4 separate regions of the Homo sapiens genome follow, and all the other regions are linked to region 1. The links are contacts of gene promoters, found by promoter capture Hi-C in blood cells and fetal thymus (Javierre and others, 2016). All regions are on one chromosome and are shown on one strand. The core of a region is centred on a gene start or on the middle of the fragment in contact, and the rest is flanking DNA. Distances in the headings are between cores, read along the strand shown.

Region 1 (2,979 bases), core at 267-2,766:
CTTAAAAATTCCCCTCTACCAATCTTCTCCCATCTGTGGATCTGCAAGCACTTTCCTATTACTAGTTCCCAGTTCACCAGAAACGGTCTGCACTTATTAACTGTGAAACCCAGATGTGAAGCCCCATGCTCATACATAGGGAAATGAGGCAAAGGGACTGGCCACAGGCCACCAAAAATTAGAACCCAAAATCCTTAGCTCATGTTTTAAATATTATACTAGAAAAGCAAAGCAGCTTTGGAGGAGCAGATTGTCTTCTACTGATTCTTGTGTTTGGCAGAGAGGCTGCCTTGGAAAGATGCCCTAAGCCCATCTTTTAAAAAGTCCAATCGTAAAGACAGGTTATCTAAGAACTTTATAGATTCTGGAGTCTTTGAAGTGTGTAACTGGGCCAGGGCTACCACAGAAGAAATCACAGACCTAGGGTCTTGATGTAAGAATTTACAAGATAACCAGATAAAGGCTAGTGGGTGAGGAGAGAGCATTAGAACCTCAAAGGAGAGATAAGGAAGGGGTGTGGAGCGAGGGACAATTGGCTTTGCTTTAAAAATATGTAACAAAATGGCCCAGTGTCTCTCACAGAAGGGTTCGGGGAAGGGAAACCAGAGATCGCGTTTTTCCGGCTCTAAGACTGGGTCGGCTTTTAGTCTTCTCTTCTGCTCCTTTTAAAGGAGATGGGGGTGGGGAACGAGAATGCTGGTGGCGATGTGGGCCTGCATCTCCTTCCCTCCTCCAGTCCTGGGAATTCCTGAAAACTCCTTCCAACCCAATTCCAAACAGGCTCTCTCTGGGTTCAGAACAATGCCGGGGAATTTCACGCAGGGAAGGGGTCCCCTTCTCGCCCCAGAGGGCAGGGGGCTACTCCGGAGCGAGTTCCGGCTCCAGGGTCCCCCACGTCCCACAGGTCTCCTGCCCTTTGGCACGCACAGCCCTCACCACTCGCTGCTTCCGCATCCCTCCTCTGAGCCTCTCCCCACGCATCTCTGCCCCTCGCCCGGCCGCGCCCAATCGCCTCCCACGTCTACCCCGCTGGGGCAGCCCCTACACCCTGCCAGGCACCCCATTTCTCTCCTCCAGGTCTGGGGGACTGGACAACATTGGGGATTAGCTGGGGTCAACTCTGCTTCCCCCGCCACCCCCGGCCCCGGGCGCGCGCTCACCCGGCGGCCGCGTTCTCGAACTTGAGCGCGAGCGTCTCCTCGATGATGCGGTTGTTCACCTCCAGCAGGATCATGGCGGCGGCTGCCCCCAGGGGAAGGAGAAACAAGGGCCGGTGAGGGTGGGTAAGGGAGGCAAGGACGGAGGGAGCGGCCCTGCTGCCCCCTGAGTGGGGCTGGGTGGGGTAGGAGGTTAGGGGAGAAGGGGAGAGGGGCCGGGGTGGAGGGAAGGGTAAGACGAACGCGCTGGCCCACGCACGCAGACTGTGGAGACACCCACCCACCCAACCGACCTGGCCCCCGAAGCCTGAACCCGCCTGCCGAGCCGCCGCCGCCGCCGCCACTGCCGCTTCACCGACAAGCCCGGTCCCCGCCCAGCCCCCGGCTCTAGCCGGCCACTTCCGCTCTCACACCCACTTCCGCTCGCCGCCTGGACGCGCGGCCCCGCGGCGCCATTTCCGCTTCAACCACTCGTGAACGCGAGCGCAGGCGCGCCGGAGGAAACGGAGGCTGCGCTTGCGTATGTGTGATGCCGCCGCCCCACCGTCTACTTTCCCACCGACCCCGCTTACGTCTACCGCCTACCAGTGCGTCCCCCGCGGAGCTGTCATTCCCCGAGGCTTGCCTGACTGTTCAGCTTCTCTCTCCCGCTTGTCCCAGAGATCCAACTCCATTCTTCCGGTCTTGTCATTTCAGAAACCTCGCAAGAAGCTCGCCCTTGTCGTCTCCCAGCGGGCTTCTTAGCTCCCAGCTTGTTTGATGGGGGTGCCTCTTTTTCTTTCCAGGTATAGCTGTCCAGCGACACCATCATGCATTCATTTCTCCAACAAACATTTTCATGGGCTCTTGCTCTATACTGGGGATGTAGTGGTAAATGAAATGGACGAGGCCCTGCCCTCGTGGAACTTACAGTCTGGCAAAGGAAACAGACAATAAAATTCTCAGTTGTCTAAGGAGGCAGAGATGCATGGGGAGAGGATCAGAGTAGGGATGCGGAAGCAGCGAGTGGTCAGGAGTGTGCGTGCCAAAAGGCAGGAGACCTGTGGGACGTGGGGGCAGCTGGGGCCGGAACTTGCGCTGGAGGAACACCCCTTGCCTGCTGGGGCGAGAAGAGGACCCTTTCCTTGGGTGAAATTCCCCATATTGTTAAAAGGACAATTAAAGAAATGAAAGAGAGGTCACCTGGGTGAATAGGCAACTTAGATGGGCCTCCCTGTGTTCCTGTCATGCCTCCAATTCTGCGTCCAGGTGTCCGGAACACATTTTTTTCTGCCTTTGAAACCTTCCAGTACCTCTGGCAGAGATATACCATACCCTCCTTGTTACCTGCGTGCGGAATCTTAACTCATCGTTGTGCTACATCTGCACCTTCTGCCTTTGTGCCTTGTTTTGTGTTTTCCCTCCTCCGGGGAGAATATAATAAACTTAGCTGAGTCCGTTCTACATACAAGGAAATAATTTATTTTCTGCTATGTGTTTGGGGATGGGGATAAAAAAATGAACAAGAAACTAGCTCCTATCATTAAGGCACAGATAGCCCTTTGAAACATTACTTAACGGGCTATGGATAAGCTTCAGGATATTGCTGATCCCCTAAAATTATACGCTAACTTAAATTTTTTTTTTTTTGAGACAGAGTCTTGCACTCTTGCCCAGGCTGGAGTGCAATGGCATGATCTCGGCTCACTGCAACCTCTGCCTCCCCGGTTCAAGCGATTCTCCTGCCTCAGCCTCCCAAATAGCTGGGATTAAAGGTGCCTGCCACCATGCCCTTTTAATGTTTTGTATTTTTAGTAGAGACGGGGTTTCACTATGTTGGTCA
Region 2 (3,235 bases), core at 486-2,985, 1.8 Mb after region 1:
GCCACCGCACTCCAGCCTGGGCAACAAGAACAAAACTCTCAAAGAAAAAAAAAAAAGCAAAAAGCAAATCCAAAGCTAAAAAGGCATTTCAGAGGCAATATTTCTCTCCTTCTCACATGGTAACTCACATGGTAACTCAATGGTTCGAAGCACTGCCAAAATGGTGAGTAACTCTTCTGATAACTCACATGGCCCAGCCAAGGTGAGTTATCAGAACCTAAGAAAGTTATGCATTGCAACGTAAATCCATCAGATAATGAGAAAGGTGACATTTTTAACCAGAAAGCATAATAGATTAGACTGAAATAGACCAACCAACCACATACCATGGCGTGACACTTGCTAACATAGTCTTTTTCCAACCTAGAAGAAGGAAAAAAGCATTAGCCTCCCATAGCCTGCACACTGAATTCTCCCCTCACATTCACCCCTTTTTATCATTCCTGGCAAATCAGTCTGCCTGTGGCTCAGTGCAAGCCAGAGCAGCTGGCCTTAGGACCTGACTTCCAACACAACACACGGAGCAACTGACTGACTCTCCTGGGAAAATAAGGAGCAGAAAAAAAAAAATTATGTGTTCACTGTGCAAATTAAGATGCTACATAAAGATGTAAACAAAAAAGAATAAAATTACTCTGTAATCTTACCAGCCATCAATAACCACAGTTGAAATTAATAATTTAGAGTATATAGTTCGGATTTTTTTTCATCCATAACAAAATGGCACATATTTAGGAGATATAAGAATTTATTATAAAGTAGGATCATTGTAAACATTCCATATTGCACCCTGATTATTTTTTTCCATGAATTTACCCGGAACATTTATTTTCCTATGAGCTGAGACATGTTTACAATATTTTAGAAGCAGCGGGCAGGACACACCAATTTGTCTGGCTTGGTTCAGACTAAATAGGCTGCATCTAATGTAATGCTGTGTAACGGTTACAATGATGATGTAGGGGTACTCCAGTAGCATTGCTTAGGCCTCTGGGCAGCTATAGGGTTCAAAGCCTTCCTTCCCTGCTGGGGCTCCCTTTGGCCAGAACCCAACCCCCCTCCCCCCTCCCCCACCACGAAGTATCTATCCCCAGAGAACTTCCACCTTCTCCAACCATTAGCAGTTAGGAAGGGGTGAAGAGGTTAGGAAAAGGTTTTGGAGGTGCACAGCAGAAGCCCTCAGTCTCTCTGGGTAACACACTCCTGCCTAAGTTTCCAACCAGGGATCTCCTGCACCTCCAAACTCCCCAGATCCCAGGCCTGGTAAGCTGTCTCCACTAACCAGAGAGACTCGGCCATAAGACCCACTGATCAGCCCCAAACCATAAATCCATTCCGCCACATGGACGCCCCTCTTCCCCTCTAGGCAGGGACCTCTGCCCCCCGCCCCCCACGCCCCGCATTTCGGGGCGAGCCTCACCCAGCCTCAAGGTAAGCGGGCGCCACGCCCCACTCCCACCCCTACGATCTCCACTTGGATTCACCCTTCCCATTGGCCCACTTCCTCCTCCAGGCTGGCATTGGTCTCGTCCGCCTCCGCCGCCTTCCTGCCAGTCTACCACTTTCTCACCCAGGGAGGCCTAGAACGCGAGCCACATTCGCCCCCGGCCCTGACCCCAGGCGCGACTGCAGAGCCTCCCGAGCGGGACCGGTCTTCCGAGTGGACGGTTAGGCCACGGGTATTCAAGCGCTGCGAGTTCGCCAGCCTTATTGTAGCGGCCAGGCCTGAAGGGCTAGGCCACCGCTGAACTACATTTCCCAGCAGGCAACGCGGCCGCAGTTTCGCTTCCAAAAGTAAGAATGATGAGACGAGAACGCGAGCGGGGCTGCAGTGTCTTCTGGGATTTGTAGTTCGGGCCGGGAGCCTGGCGAGAAACGGGAGCTGCAACGTCATGGGCGGGGCGAAAGTGGTGCACCCTGGAAGTTGTAGTTCTCCAGAGGTTTAGCCAAACACTAGGTCCTGAAAGCCTAGGACGTTGAGGTTTCCAAACCCGGAGTCGGCTGTCTCCAGAGGACATCCCAGACAGCCATACTAACTTGGCAGCTCTTAATAAAAAGTATCTCCCCGGGGCATCCATTCCTGGTATTGCTATACTTGCCATTTAAGCCCCACCCGCTGCGCCCGGCTGCCATCATCGTCATCATTGTAGTCATCAGTCATTGTGTTTAGCATAAATATGAGTTACCTCATTTAACCGCACTACAACCTATGGAACACATTCTTGTCCCCCTTTTACAGAGGGGGAAACTAAGACAGCTATTTGATAATATTTCTCAAGGCTTTATTAAGCTAGCTTGTGATTCTGATTCCATAGCCCCTCCTCTTGAGAGAAGATTAGTCATGAGACTTAAAGAGTCACTTTACCCCATCCTGAGCACCAACATCCTGAGCCATCCTGAGCACCATTGGTGATAAATATAACATTTCTCTATCAGTGTGCATATGAATGTTGCTATTGTTCTATTTTCAAACATGGCTCATTTAAAAACAAACAAGTCTACTAAAGGATTTGAAAAAATGGACCAGACATGCTAAGAAAAAGGAAGCACAGCAATGTGTGTAGTTTGATTTTTTTTTTTTTCATCCTTACCTGTACATGTATGTAAACTCATAAAGGTCTGGGAAGGAAACTTAAAAAGTCACCAAACTGTTCAGGAGCAGAGTGGCATGAAATACACTTTTCAGCTTTTTAATCTCTATTTTTCAGAATGATTTGAATTTTCTAAAATAATAATGTAGAATTTGTGTGACTTTTGAAACAATAAATAATCTCCCTTCTTCCTTCCTTCCTTTTTTTTTTTTTTTTTTTTTTTTTTTTTTTTTTTGAGACAGAGTCTCACTCTGTTGCCTAGACTGAGTGTGGTGGTGTAATCTTGGCTCACTTCAGCCTCTGACTCCTGGGTTCAAATGATTCTCCTGCCTCAGCCTCCCAAATAGCTGGGATTATGGGTGCATGCCGCCATGCCTGGCTGATTTTAGTAATTTTAGTAGAGACAGAGTTTTACCATGTTGGCCAGGCTGGTCTCAAACTCCTGACCTCAAGTGATCCACCTGCCTCAGCCTCCCAAAGTGCTGGGATTACAGGTGTGAGCCACTGCGCCCAGCCCATTTGTCTTAAATGACAAAGACATTGCCTGTCTTAGGGGATCTGTGTGAGGTTTAGTAGTAGAAAGTATTCAAATCTCAGCTCTACCCCTTTTATTGACCTGACATACCCAGTGATTGTGCCTCCAT
Region 3 (3,181 bases), core at 654-3,153, 1.0 Mb before region 1:
CCTGTAGTCCCAGCTACTTGGGAGGCTGAGGCAGGAGAACGGCATGAACCGGGGAGGCGGAGCTTGCAGTGAGCCGAGATCACACCACTGCACTCCAGCCTGGGCAACAGAACGAGACTCTGTCTCAAAAAAGATGAAGAAAAATAAAATAAATAAAACGAATGTAAATAAAAACTGGCCCTGGGCATTCTGGAAAAGAATCCGATGAGGGTAAAAGCCTTGGGGTCGGTTAAACTTCTCCAACGTAGCCCTCTCCCGAGATCCAGCGTCTGCAAGTCCTCCCCACTGGCTGAGTTTGAGTCTTGTCTAATTTAAATTAGCCAAACAGATTGTTTAGGTGAATCCTAAAGAAAATAATTTCTGTTCAGTTTAAAATTATTTTTCACTGCACAAAAACTACTTCCCAAATGCTTTTTAAAGTTTACATTTCCAATTAGTGTACAGTTTGTCTAAGGAGAGGTGCAAGAAAAGATGTAGCCAAACTAAAGTTACACAAAACAGGACCGACACGGTGGCTCATGCCTGTAATCTCAGCACTTTGGGAGGCTGACCCAGGCGGATCACTTGAGGCCAGGAGTTTGAGACCAGCCTGGCCAACATGGTGAAACCCCGTCTCTACTAAAAATACAATAATTAGCCGGGCATGGTGGTGCGGGCCTGTAGTCCCAGCTACTCGGGAGGCTGAGGCAGGAGAATCACTTGAACCCGGGAGACGGAGATTGCAGTGGGTGGAGATCGTGCCACTGCACTTTAGCCTGGGCGACAGAGCGAGACTCTCAAAAAATAAAGCTATACGAAACAAATAATAAATTGTTTCATATTCAGCAAAAAGGAATAATTTGAGTGGGGCCTGGTTAAATGTGGAATACATCTGAGAATTTTATCTCTACAAAGTTTAAAGTGTTTTTGAAGGGAATGGTGTTAACGTGAGGAGATACATGCAATGGCAAAAAGACTTGTTTGAAAACAAGGGCTGTGCTGGACATTACCCAGAGATTAAGTGAATTTAATCAAGCAGAAAGATAAATCAATTGGCCTCCTAAGCTCGGGAATACCAATAAGAATGTGTTCCCTGAACGGGCAATACGCTGTAAGGAGCCCTGTCACGTTTCACACGAAACCTTCCAGGATACCTGAACAGGAAGTACGCGGAGCCCGGGCCAGAGCCTCCCCAGGCGCGTGGCTCACCAGGCTCAGGCCCTGAAAGACCGGAGCATCCGCGCTGAGGTCAAACAGGGAGATCGACGCAGGAGCCGGGGCTGCATCTGGAGCCGGCGACATGGCTGAGCAGAAATTATTTAGCAGCAGCTCCTGGAGTAGAAAGCGTGTAAGAAACAGGGCTCCTGCAAACGAGATCCTACTGCTGCGTCTCCTGCCTGCCTGACTTGGTTTCTCCTGCACCGCAAGACTTCTCGTCTCTCATCCTGCTACCAACTGTGAGATGAATACCTTGGCCCCCGTCCACTTTCTCAAACCCCCAGTCTCAGCCCACAAAAGAATGAAATAGGCATTCGGCTCCCAAATCGAGTCCAACAGAGTTAAAAATCACTGAGCTTGCCTAGCCGAACTTTCTTCGTTACCCATGCGACCAGCAACAACTGGCCCGCGTAAACTCGCCCACGCCCTTAGAAGACGCACCAAACGTCCCGGGAGCTGAGCGGCTCGCAAGTCCTCAGGTCGATTGCCGGATTTCTGCAACACAACAATCCCCGTCACTACGGAGCAGCGAAGAGGACAACCGGCGGCGTCCGCACCTGAGCCCCGCCCCACGTAGAGCACACTATTGGGCCGCTGACTGTCCAAGACCCGCCTCGAGACTTTAGTCCCGTCCCTGAAGCCGAGAATTGGCCGTTGTGTCTCCGCCCCCCGTGCTTATTGGCCAGCCTGGCTGCGGGTGACAGTGAGTGGCAGACACCCGGCCTAGCGCCGCGGGTCGCGCCGAGCCGAGCCGAGCCGAGCGGAGCCGGCGGAGCCTCTGGAATCACCCGGGTCGCTGTTCCTGAGGTAAGACGTGAGACCGGTTATTGGAATCCCAGGCCCCGTGTCTGGCCTTGCCCAGGGGTGCCTGCGGAGCCCTAAGTGAGCTCGCGGCGGGTAACGGAGGAAGGGGCGCCGCCGGCGGGGCGGGGGCGCGCAGCCGGAATGTTTTGATTGCTGGCGCGCGCAGACGGGGGCGCGCGCGGGCGCCGGGGCCGCGCGCGAGGTTGTCCGCTGTTGGGAGCTGCCAGCCCTTGGCCTGGGGCCGGGCGACCCTGGGGCGAGGTGGACTCCGGTCCACGGTCGCCGCGGCTGGGTGTGGGGAGGCAAGCCAACCCACCCGGGCTATCAGCTGTAAGGCTGACTCGATCCCTGCAACATCCGCAGGAACCCCTGAGCCCAGGCCCAGCCGGCCGGGGCTCCACGGGCCCTGGTCCACACTGACCCTGTGAGTGGTGACTTCCCTGAGGGGCAGGGCTCTCACTAGCCCAGGGAATCCCACCGGGGCCAGGCTGGGCCAAGATCCACGGCCCCCAGGGGCTGCACGGACAGGTGAGTACCACCTCGACCATGCCTGGCTTACAGGACCTAGGGAACCCACAAATTCACCTAGGATCGGGGGTCTACACTGACCCAGTCAAGGTTTCCCATCCAGAAGGTTTGCTCACCGGCTGGATCTTTGGTGCTAGGGAAGTAAGAGAAGGGGTTGACCAGAAAGGTCCTCTTCAGGAAAGACTCTTGAGGTTTTGTGGACCCTGAGAAGTATGTCATTTCTGAGGCTAAGGTAGGGCAATGGAGAAATAGTCCAGAGGCGCCCCTGGCCTCAGGTCTGTACCCACTCATTCTCCATGGGGTCCCTAAGTTACTTCTTGAGACCCTGGAGTTGGAAGAGTGGCCCGGTTTAGCACAGCCAGAGGAAGTGCTCGTAGTCCTGGGCTGGAAGGGTGCTTCTTCCCCACTGCAGCCTTCCTGCCCCATGCTTGGCCTCCTCTTGGTGGGGTGTGGATGGCTGGGAGGGTTGGGTTCCTTTTTATCCCCACTGCCCACTCTCTGGGGCCTGACATCTTCTCCTCCAGCAGCTGCAGAGCATCGAGGGCTGGAGAGGAGCACATACTGTCCATGGAGCTGGTAGGGCCATGTGCTTTTCTCAAACATTTGTTTGTGAAGTGCTTCCAAACTGTTAGTCTCTTGGGAGACCAGGGTT
Region 4 (3,137 bases), core at 34-2,533, 1.0 Mb before region 1:
AGGATGTCAACGCTGCCATTGCCGCCATCAAGACCAAGCGCAGCATTCAGTTTGTGGACTGGTGCCCCACAGGCTTCAAGGTTGGTATCAACTACCAGCCTCCCACTGTGGTGCCTGGGGGTGACCTGGCCAAGGTGCAGCGTGCCGTGTGCATGCTGAGCAACACGACCGCCATCGCCGAGGCCTGGGCCCGCCTGGACCACAAGTTCGACCTGATGTATGCCAAGAGGGCGTTTGTGCACTGGTATGTGGGTGAGGGCATGGAGGAGGGTGAGTTCTCCGAGGCCCGTGAGGATATGGCTGCCCTGGAGAAGGATTATGAGGAGGTGGGCATCGACTCCTATGAGGACGAGGATGAGGGAGAAGAATAAAGCAGCTGCCTGGAGCCTATTCACTATGTTTATTGCAAAATCCTTTCGAAATAAACAGTTTCCTTGCACGGTTTCTTGTTCCCTCTGAGTGCTTGAGCTTCTGCTGCCTTCCCCTTCATGCTGCTGCTGCTCTGTTTGCTGTTCATGACCCTTATCCCTTCCATCGCTGAAGGTGAGACCTGCAAAGGGGTTCTTGCCAGGCCCAGGAAGCATAACCCCAGGGACTTTAAATTGAAGTCCTAGGGTTACTCAGTATAGGGAGGAAATGAGGACCAAAATCCAGGCACAAACTGTTGAAGGATGAGTCTTCAGCTCCTTTCCAAGTAGGAGTATAATCCAGTGGTTTCTGTCTTTGAAAGTTAGACTGCTACCCTGTTCTTCCTGCTGCCTCTACATTTACCAACTCTGGAAGCAAGGCTTGGCCCAGGCTCCTCTGTGCATTATGAGGGTTTGGGAGTGGGGCTGGGCTGGCCCAGAGTTCCTGGGCATGGAGCCACGTCATAAGCTTGGGGGATGGGAGGGAACACAGGCGATCTCCTAGAGTTGTTTGTGCCACTGCACCTCTGAGCAGCTTTGCATAGCTTCCTGTCTTGCTGCTTTGCTGGAGCTGGGGCTGTGCCATTAAAAGTCAGGTCATCTCCCCTCTGTTTGTGATTTCTTTCTGGCCTCAGCCTCTGTGCTAGCTAGTGGGAGACTCCTGCTAGGGCCCTGGGGAAAGCTTCAACTTTGCTAACAGGAGCCCCAGGCCCCATGCTGATGTCATACTGTGGGGTAGACATGGTTCGGGGGAGGAGGCTTGGATCACAAAAGAGCAGGAGATGCCAACCCTGCCCTTGCCTTTCCTCCCTGGTGATTCAGGGAACAGAGCCCTTCCCTAGGGAACAGGTTTGAAGCCCAGCTAAGACAGGGCCCCTGTTTACTCAGCAGAGTAGGCAGGAAGTGGCAGCTGGATACTGCCACACCACACTGCCTCATTAATCATTAACCATGTATGAGCTTGAACGATCAGGGAGACACAGGCCAAAACAGCTGCCGCTGCCACCTCCACTCCCCTCGCCCCTAGGCTGAGGATGGGAGACCTGTAATCTACCTGTCTCAAAGCTTCCTCAGGTGTCTCCACCCAGAGGCCCTTGCCTAGCAAACCGGCTAGGCAGCTTTGACTAAGCTACTCACCCCAGGAGTGAAGGAAGGAAAGAACTAGTTGAGTGTTTTTAGGGGGCCCTAGTTCTTGACACAGGCAGATGCCAGCTTGAGCCCAAGCAGCTTTAAGTTTTGATCTAAGACAAGCTAGAACTGTCCACTGCTAACCAACCTCCTGTAGAATGAAGTCACACCATTGCCGACTCTGCACCATTCCTCCTTCCCAGGCAGTTCGCCTGAAATGGCAACCTGACTTTGGGCCCCTTGCACCTCTTCTCTCACTCCAGGAACACTGAGACTAAGATCTACACCAACCTGCTTCCACTTTATTCTTGTTTACACATTCTCCTGCTCCCAGATTTGGAGTCAGAACACTATGTGAGCTCAACAGTCCTGCTCAGAGCCATGTTCCATATCCCACCAGTTTCCCTTTTCCCAACCCCCACCCACCCCCACTCAGTAAGTCCCCTTGCCCAGGTTTTGCTCTTGGAGGGAAGAAAGCAGAAGAAAAGATGCAGGACTGAGATGATTGTCCTGACCCCGCTACCCCCAAGTGTAAGAGAAGTCCTGGATGGAATGGGTGGTGATTCCAATGAGGGATGGGAACCTCTTTCCAAGGCACAAGGGGCCATCTTCTCAACATGCTGCTTTTTCAGATTTGGGTAGTATGTTGGCCAGGAGCTGGGGGCTGAAGCGCCTCCAGCTGACTGAGGAGGAGAGGAATGTGAGGACGCTGATGCGGGTCCACGGTCATCATCGAGTTCAGGAGCTGCCGCAATGCTGAAGAATGCCTGTGGAGGGAGGAGCCCAGGGTGACCGGATGACACCTATCTGTCAACTCAGCTAATACCAGGGGGGAGTCTGAAACACTTGATGCCCTATTCGTTGCTCACTCACCTGGGGCTTTGTGGGATGCTGAGTTGGTTCTGCACAGCAAGGGCCACACTGTCACCCTTTTGGAACACCATGTCATAAGGGCCTTCCCCAAACATCATGGCATATAGCACGCAGCCTAGGGACTGAGCATAACTTGATTAGTCCCTAGAAGGGGACCAGTGGAGGTGACATCTCTCCCTTTACTTCTGTGGTAAAAGGAGACTCCATAAGCTAAAAAGAATACGCTGACCTCAGCCACATGGCACCACCAGGGTCCAGAGAAACTGCCAGTCAGCTGGAGGCCTCCGCAGCCCCTGTTTAGCTTAGCCCCTGCTTAGCCAGTGCCTTCACTACTGACACTGAGCTGTACTCACCTTGTTCAGGGGCACAGATTATACCACATCCGGTACAACTGGGTACAGTATCAGTGACATTTCCCAGGAAGGAAGTTGAAGTGGATGGGGACATATTGTGGTTCCTGGCGCCCCATGCAACAGAAACCAACAACCTACTCTACTCCACGGTGGGTACAGAGCCACAGCCCTCCCTACCCAGATACCCACCCACATGCTCCTCACCCAGACATCAGTCCGCTCATCGATGACACAGTGACTCTGCACAGAGAAGAGCTCTGGGGCTCGGTAGGAGATGGTGCACCGCTGGGCTGCCCAGTCCTGGAACAGTGATCCCAGAGCTCAAAAGTGGGGCACAGGTCATGGTCATGTGACCAAACTGGGACATGCACCAGAA

The links. Contacts are between HindIII fragments. The CHiCAGO score rates a contact against its expected background, and 5 or more counts as called.
Region 2: a contact is called between the fragment with the promoter of SMARCAL1 here and the fragment with the promoter of ARPC2 in region 1, in 1 of 17 cell types (neutrophils). The highest score is 5.0, in neutrophils.
Region 3: the fragment with the promoter of ATG9A here is called in contact with the fragment with the promoter of ARPC2 in region 1 in 5 of 17 cell types (total CD4 T cells, non-activated CD4 T cells, total B cells and 2 more); the score reaches 9.8 in total CD4 T cells.
Region 4: a contact is called between a fragment that was not itself captured here and the fragment with the promoter of ARPC2 in region 1, in 1 of 17 cell types (total CD8 T cells). The highest score is 5.4, in total CD8 T cells.

Annotation. Positions count from the first base shown.
Region 1 is chr2:218,215,726-218,218,704 of GRCh38, reverse strand. ARPC2 (actin related protein 2/3 complex subunit 2) reads right to left here and starts at 1,516. Exons shown (of 11, transcript NM_152862.3): 1 at 1,451-1,516; 2 at 1,161-1,242. The coding sequence starts at 1,234. LOC101928487 (a long non-coding RNA gene) reads left to right here and starts at 1,519. Exons shown (of 2, transcript XR_923908.2): 1 at 1,519-1,677; 2 at 1,854-2,604. RefSeq lists a silencer at 1,333-1,382 and an enhancer at 904-1,507. The HindIII fragment of the contact is 6,430 bases long and covers 1-2,731 here.
Region 2 is chr2:216,410,984-216,414,218 of GRCh38, reverse strand. It overlaps SMARCAL1 (SNF2 related chromatin remodeling annealing helicase 1), which reads right to left and starts at 1,735. Exons shown (of 18, transcript NM_014140.4): 1 at 1,571-1,735; 2 at 327-363. It overlaps SMARCAL1-AS1 (SMARCAL1 antisense RNA 1), which reads left to right and starts at 1,719. Exons shown (of 5, transcript XR_001739881.1): 1 at 1,719-1,794. RefSeq lists enhancers at 1,626-1,715, 1,846-1,935, 1,679-1,973. The HindIII fragment of the contact is 8,553 bases long and covers 1-3,235 here.
Region 3 is chr2:219,228,358-219,231,538 of GRCh38, reverse strand. It overlaps ATG9A (autophagy related 9A), which reads left to right and starts at 1,903. Exons shown (of 16, transcript NM_001077198.3): 1 at 1,903-2,004; 2 at 3,054-3,105. It overlaps ANKZF1 (ankyrin repeat and zinc finger peptidyl tRNA hydrolase 1), which reads right to left and starts at 1,733. Exons shown (of 14, transcript NM_018089.3): 1 at 1,639-1,733; 2 at 1,134-1,311. The coding sequence starts at 1,281. RefSeq lists enhancers at 1,539-1,648, 1,319-1,866, 1,867-2,414, 2,415-2,963 and silencers at 1,799-1,928, 2,139-2,188. The HindIII fragment of the contact is 5,267 bases long and covers 1-3,181 here.
Region 4 is chr2:219,247,586-219,250,722 of GRCh38, reverse strand. STK16 (serine/threonine kinase 16) reads right to left here. Exons shown (of 8, transcript NM_001330213.2): 6 at 2,966-3,061; 7 at 2,409-2,530; 8 at 386-2,302. The coding sequence ends at 2,164. TUBA4A (tubulin alpha 4a) reads left to right here. Exons shown (of 4, transcript NM_006000.3): 4 at 1-1,013. The coding sequence ends at 371. Among named protein-coding and RNA genes, the nearest start is that of STK16, 3.7 kb to the right of the region's middle. RefSeq lists enhancers at 491-610, 651-740. The HindIII fragment of the contact is 383 bases long and covers 1,092-1,474 here.